2 separate regions of the Homo sapiens genome follow, and region 2 is linked to region 1. Evidence: promoter capture Hi-C in 16 types of primary human blood cells and fetal thymus (Javierre and others, 2016). All regions are on one chromosome and are shown on one strand. The core of a region is centred on a gene start or on the middle of the fragment in contact, and the rest is flanking DNA. Distances in the headings are between cores, read along the strand shown. Region 1 holds the start of TEX19 (testis expressed 19). Region 2 overlaps CSNK1D (casein kinase 1 delta).

Region 1 (2,969 bases), core at 446-2,945:
AACCTGAGGGAAACTGGGGGAACCTGAGGGAAACTTGAGGGAAACTGGGGGAAACTGAGGGAACCTGAGGGAAACTGGGGGAACCTGAGGGAAACTGGGGGAAACTGAGGGAACCTGAGGGAAACTGGGGGAACCTGAGGGAAACTGGGGGAACCTGAGGGAAACTTGAGGGAAACTGGGGGAACCTGAGGGAAACTGGGGGAACCTGAGGGAAACTTGAGGGAAACTGAGGGAACCTGAGGGAAACTGGGGGAACCTGAGGGAAACTTGAGGGAACCCGAGGGAACCTGAGGGAAACTGGGGGAACCTGAGGGAAACTGAGGGAACCTGAGGGAAACTGGGGGAACCTGAGGGAAACTGGGGGAACCTGAGGGAAACTTGAGGGAAACTGGGGGAAACTGAGGGAAACTGGGGGAACCTGAGGGAAACTGAGGGAACCTGAGGGAACCTGAGGGAAACTGGGGGAACCTGAGGGAAACTTGAGGGAACCTGAGGGAAACTGGGGGAACCTGAGGGAAACTGAGGGAACCTGAGGGAAACTGGGGGAACCTGAGGGAAACTTGAGGGAAACTGGGGGAAACTGAGGGAAACTGGGGGAACCTGAGGGAAACTGAGGGAACCTGAGGGAAACTGGGGGAACCTGAGGGAAACTGGGGGAAACTGGGGGAACCTGAGGGAACCTGAGGGAAACTGGGGGAACCTGAGGGAAACTTGAGGGAAACTGGGGGAAACTGGGGGAACCTGGGGGAAACTGGGGGAACCTGAGGGAAACTGAGGGAACCTGAGGGAAACTGGGGGAACCTGAGGGAAACTTGAGGGAAACTGAGGGAACCTGAGGGAAACTGGGGGAACCTGAGGGAAACTTGAGGGAAACTGGGGGAAACTGGGGGAACCTGGGGGAAACTGGGGGAACCTGAGGGAACCTGAGGGAAACTGGGGGAACCTGAGGGAAACTTGAGGGAAACTGAGGGAACCTGAGGGAAACTGGGGGAACCTGAGGGAAACTTGAGGGAAACTGAGGGAAACTGGGGGAACCTGAGGGAAACTGGGGGAACCCGAGGGAAACTTGAGGGAAACTGGGGGAACCTGAGGGGAACTTGAGGGAAACTGGGGGAACCTGAGGGAAACTGGGGGAAACTGAGGGGAACTTGAGGGAAACTGAGGGAACCTGAGGGAAGCTGGGGGAAACTGAGGGAACCTGAGGGAAACTGAGGGAAATTTGAGGGAAACTGGGGGAAACTGAGGGAAACTTGAGGGAAACTGAGGGAACCTGAGGGAAACTGGGGGAACCTGAGGGAAGCTGAGGGAAACTTGAGGGAAACTGGGGGAACCTGAGGGAAACTTGAGGGAAACTGAGGGAACCTGAGGGAAACTGAGGGAAACTTGAGGGAAACTGAGGGAACCTGAGGGAAACTGAGGGAACCTGAGGGAAACTGAGGGAAACTTGAGGGAAACTGAGGGAACCTGAGGGAAACTGAGGGAAATTTGAGGGAACTTGGAGAACCTTAGGGAACCTGAGGGAAACTGAGGGAAATTTGAGGGAAACTGAGGGAACCTGAGGAATCCTGGCCCCGCTTCAGCCTCCCAACCCCTCACCCAGCACCAGGCCGTGTCTCCGAGACCCCTCCTCAGAGACCCCTCCTCGGGAGATCTCACCATCCTGGTGTCTCTGTTCATGTGGGCACCCAGGGAAAGGAGGAGGCAGAGCCCATTTGGGTATATAAAGGGCCATTTCCCATGGTGCTCTGGGCTCATCTGCATATCTCCCATGAGCCTCAGTTTCCAGGAAATGAAAGTGCTGAGTCACCAGCTCCCTCCAAGGAGGGCCATGTGCAGCCCCTGGGCACCTGCAGGAAGGCCCTGGAGAGGCAGCTCCTCTGGGGGCTGGAGATTGGGGTGGGTGCTCTCCGTCTGCAGGCTGGCACAGGGTGAGCATCCAGCCTGTGGTTGCTGGCCCGTCGTGGGCACGACGTCCTGGTCCTGCCGCGTTTGTAAAACGTGATCCCTGCTTTGCTGTCTCTGTCTTAAAGTTCTCTGAATTTTAAGAACCAGCCAATTGTCAATTAGTTATTGTTTAAACACATTTTCCCCTTTGTGGTTCATCTCTTCGCTCTTTAAACAAGACGCTTATAAATTAACACTTGTTTTTTCAGTAGACTCTATTTTTTACAGCAGTTTTAGGTTCATAGCAAAATTGAGCCAAAAGCATGGAGCTCTCCCACCGCTCCCCTGCTCCTGCAGGTGCACAGCCTTCCCCAGTCCTCCCGTCCCAGCCATTTGTTACACGTTGTTATTATCATCATCGCCCTCTGCAGTTTCCATTATGCTTTCCTCCGGTGCTGTGCATTCTGCAGGTTTGGACACATGTATAATCATGCAGACCCACCACTCTAATATTGTACAGACGGGTTTCTCCGCCCCGATTCATCTGTGTTCTGCATTTTCATCACTCCCTCTCCCAGCCCCTGGCAACCAGGAATCTTTTGACTGTCTCCTTAATTTTGCCTTTTCCAAAATGTCACAGAGCTGGACTCATACATTATGTAGCCTTTTCAACTTCTTTTTTAGTAATACGCACTTTGGTTCTTCCATGTCTTTTGTGGTTTGATAGTTCACTTCTTTTTTTTTTTTTTTTTTTTTTTGAGACAGAGTCTTGCTCTGTCACCCAGGCTGGAATGCACTGGTGAAATCACAGCTACTACAGCCTCAACCTCCTGGGCTCCTGTGATTTTCTCACCTCAGCCTCCCAAATAGCTGGGACTACAGGTGCTGGTGCACACCCCGATAAGTTTTGTATTTTTTGTGAGACAGGGCCTCACCATGTTGCCCACACTGGTATCAAACACTTGGGCTCAAGTGATCCGCCTGCCTCTGCCTCCCACAGTGCTGGGATTACAGACGTGAGCCACCTTGCATGGCCAGCTCACTTATTTTTTAACACTGAATGGTATTCCATTGTCTGGATGTAC
Region 2 (2,765 bases), core at 69-2,568, 95 kb after region 1:
CAGCACCTGAAGACTGGTGGGCGGGTGATGGAAGCCACATAAACTTTCTGTGCAGTTCAAATTCGTCCTGTTGTGAAAATGGGAATATGGATAACTTCCCCCAGAGATGTGTCAGCCGATTAGCCCGCCTTACTATGCTAGGAAGGAGAACACATCCCTCACTTGGTCCTTCATGGAAAACACATAGTGCTTGTTGTTTCTCCAGCATGTTGGGTTATTTGGTGGATACCAGGTAATTCCTGTTGTGGTTTTCTTTCTTTGCCAAGGTACGGACATTGCTGCAGGAGAAGAGGTTGCCATCAAGCTTGAATGTGTCAAAACCAAACACCCTCAGCTCCACATTGAGAGCAAAATCTACAAGATGATGCAGGGAGGAGGTAGGTCTTTACCAGTCACAGAGCAACACCAGGGTTCTGTTTGACAAGGGAGAACAGCAACTCAGCATTGCTGGTTAAAATAAACCCAAAACTGGTTCTGGGCAAAAGGGAGGGAAGTGTTCTCCACACCCTGACAAAGCAGTCACAGCTTCCTTCAGAGAGTCTTGGGTCCAGAGACCCTCCCTCAACACAAAGAAACATCTTATGGGCCGGGCATGGTGGCTCACGCCTGGAATCCCAGCACTTTGGGAGGCCAAGATGGGTGGATCATTTGAGGTCAGTAGTTTGAGACTAGCCTGGCCAACGTAGTGAAACCCCGTCTCTACTAAAAATACAAAAATTAGCCAAGTGTGATGGCGTGCACCTGTAATCCCAGCTGTTTGGGAGGCTGAGGCAGGAGAATCGCCTGAGTCTGGGAGGCAGAGGTTGCGGTGAGCCGAGATCACGCCACTGCACTCCAGCCTGGGCGACAGAGTGAGACCCTGTCCCCCCCAAAAAAAAAAAAAATCTTATACCATCTTGTCCTTTTGTTTAAATTTTGCTTCATATTGGGTCATGGTTTCTGAAATCAAGAGTGTGTGTGAATAGGCCAGACGCAGTGGCTCACACCTGTAATCCCAGCACTTTGGGAGGCCGAGGCAGGCGGATCACGAGGTCAGGAGCTCGAGACCATCCTGGCTAACACAGTGAAACCCCGTCTCTACTAAAAATACAAAAAAAGTTAGCCGTTCGTGGTGGCGGGCGCCTGTAGTCCCAGCTACTTGGGAGGCTGAGGCAGGAGAATGGCGTGAACCCGGGAGGCAGAGCTTGCAGTGAGCCCAGATAGCGCCACTGCAGTCCAGCCTGGATGAAAGAGCGAGACTCCGTCTCAAAAAAAAAAAAAAAAAAGATTTTGTGTGAATTTCAATGCATGCTCCCCGTGGTGTCGTGTGCCCCTCAGTGGTCACTGGAGCTGTTGCCAGTGGCACGTGTGTTGCTCAGTGGGGCCTTCCTGATGTGTGATCCCTGAGTGAGGCCTCTGCTCCTTCGCATGCTTTGCTTATAGCTTGGGGGAAGTCCCTTCATACTCTCTGGGCTCGTTTTCTCCGAGCAAAACAAGGGTTTTGAACTTGGCGACCATCATGACCTCTTCCAGCTCAGTTACTGTCCCAGTTCTGCGAGCCCTCAGCCCAGGGCCTTAGGTACCTGGTGTTCCACGGTGGGCCAGGTGTGGAGCAGAGCGCTCCTGTCCTCCCCTCAGAGTCCAGCTCTTGCGAGTTCCCTGGACTTTCAAACAGTTGGGCTGATGGAGCAGGAGGGTATTCTCTGCGGGGATTTCAGAGCCATGAAGCGTGTGTCTCAACAGCAGAGCTTCGGTCTGGCAGGAGCCCTCTTTGGGAACAGAGCTTTTTGTCTGAAGAGTGGCTGTGCCACGTCTGTGGAGCCCTCCCAGTGAGAAGGCTCCGCGGCACATTTGTAGGTGGATGGTTGGGTGAGTCCCCTTGGGCAACTGGCCAAAGGAAAACCTGTTCAGGGCCTCTGTTAGCCCTTTTGTCACGGGAAAGGGAGGACTGTTGATTTGATTCTTTGACATCTTTTCTCAGCACAAGCACGTAATCTGTGCTACTACAAGAAACCGACGTTTCTAAGTTTATGTGACACAAAATATCTTTGGCAGCACCTGTGGTCCTGGGGAACCCGTTACAGAGAGGGGCACCCAGTGTGTCCCATCACGGGCCTCACGTGACCAGAGGAGGCCACAGGAATGAAAAATCCCATCACCAACCCAGGGAAAGCTCAGCAGAGACTCCGCCCTGGGAGCCTGTCTGGCGGCCCTTGGTGGTGGACTGGCTTCTCAAGGGCCTGGAGCCTGCATTGCCTTGAAGGTGTGACGAGCCAATAGAGCAGGGTGGTGCGGGGTGTGGCCTTGGCCTGCGGGAGCCTGGTGCTGGGGTCAAGTAAAACCTGCAAGCTTAAAAACACCTTAAGTTTTTACGAGAGATGTCTCCAGGAGAACTTGCAAGCCAGGGGTACACAAGGGCAAAGGGAAGAAAGCCAGTCCTTAGAAGCCCGGGATGGTCACTGGGGAAGCCAACCCTGAACCAAAAAGTGCTACGTGGTTCCGGACAGGACTTCTCCACTCGGCACTAGTGCCATTTGTAGTGGTGCGTTCTCTGCATGGTAGATGTTGGCAGCACCCCTGCCCCTAGTTGTGATACTCAAAACTTTCTTCAGACAGTGCTGAAGGCCCCTGGCAGGCAAAGTTGCTTCCCCTGTGGCCGCTGGCTTAAGAGAGTAAAGAAGCCTGCACCTTCATGTTCCTGCCCATGGCACCTTCTCTAGGATCCTGGAAACCAAATAGGATTTCAGAAATGGTTTTTCTCCCATTTGGGCTTCGAGCGCATTGCC

What was found. Contacts are between HindIII fragments. The CHiCAGO score rates a contact against its expected background, and 5 or more counts as called.
Region 2: a contact is called between a fragment that was not itself captured here and the fragment with the promoter of TEX19 in region 1, in 1 of 17 cell types (activated CD4 T cells). The highest score is 5.6, in activated CD4 T cells.

What each region holds. Positions count from the first base shown.
Region 1 is chr17:82,357,973-82,360,941 of GRCh38, reverse strand. It overlaps TEX19 (testis expressed 19), which reads right to left and starts at 1,695. Exons shown (of 2, transcript NM_207459.4): 1 at 1,657-1,695. RefSeq lists a silencer at 215-509. The HindIII fragment of the contact is 12,499 bases long and covers 1-2,969 here.
Region 2 is chr17:82,263,298-82,266,062 of GRCh38, reverse strand. CSNK1D (casein kinase 1 delta) reads left to right here. Exons shown (of 9, transcript NM_001893.6): 2 at 267-377. Among named protein-coding and RNA genes, the nearest start is that of CSNK1D, 9.0 kb to the left of the region's middle. RefSeq lists an enhancer at 1-378. The HindIII fragment of the contact is 2,024 bases long and covers 307-2,330 here.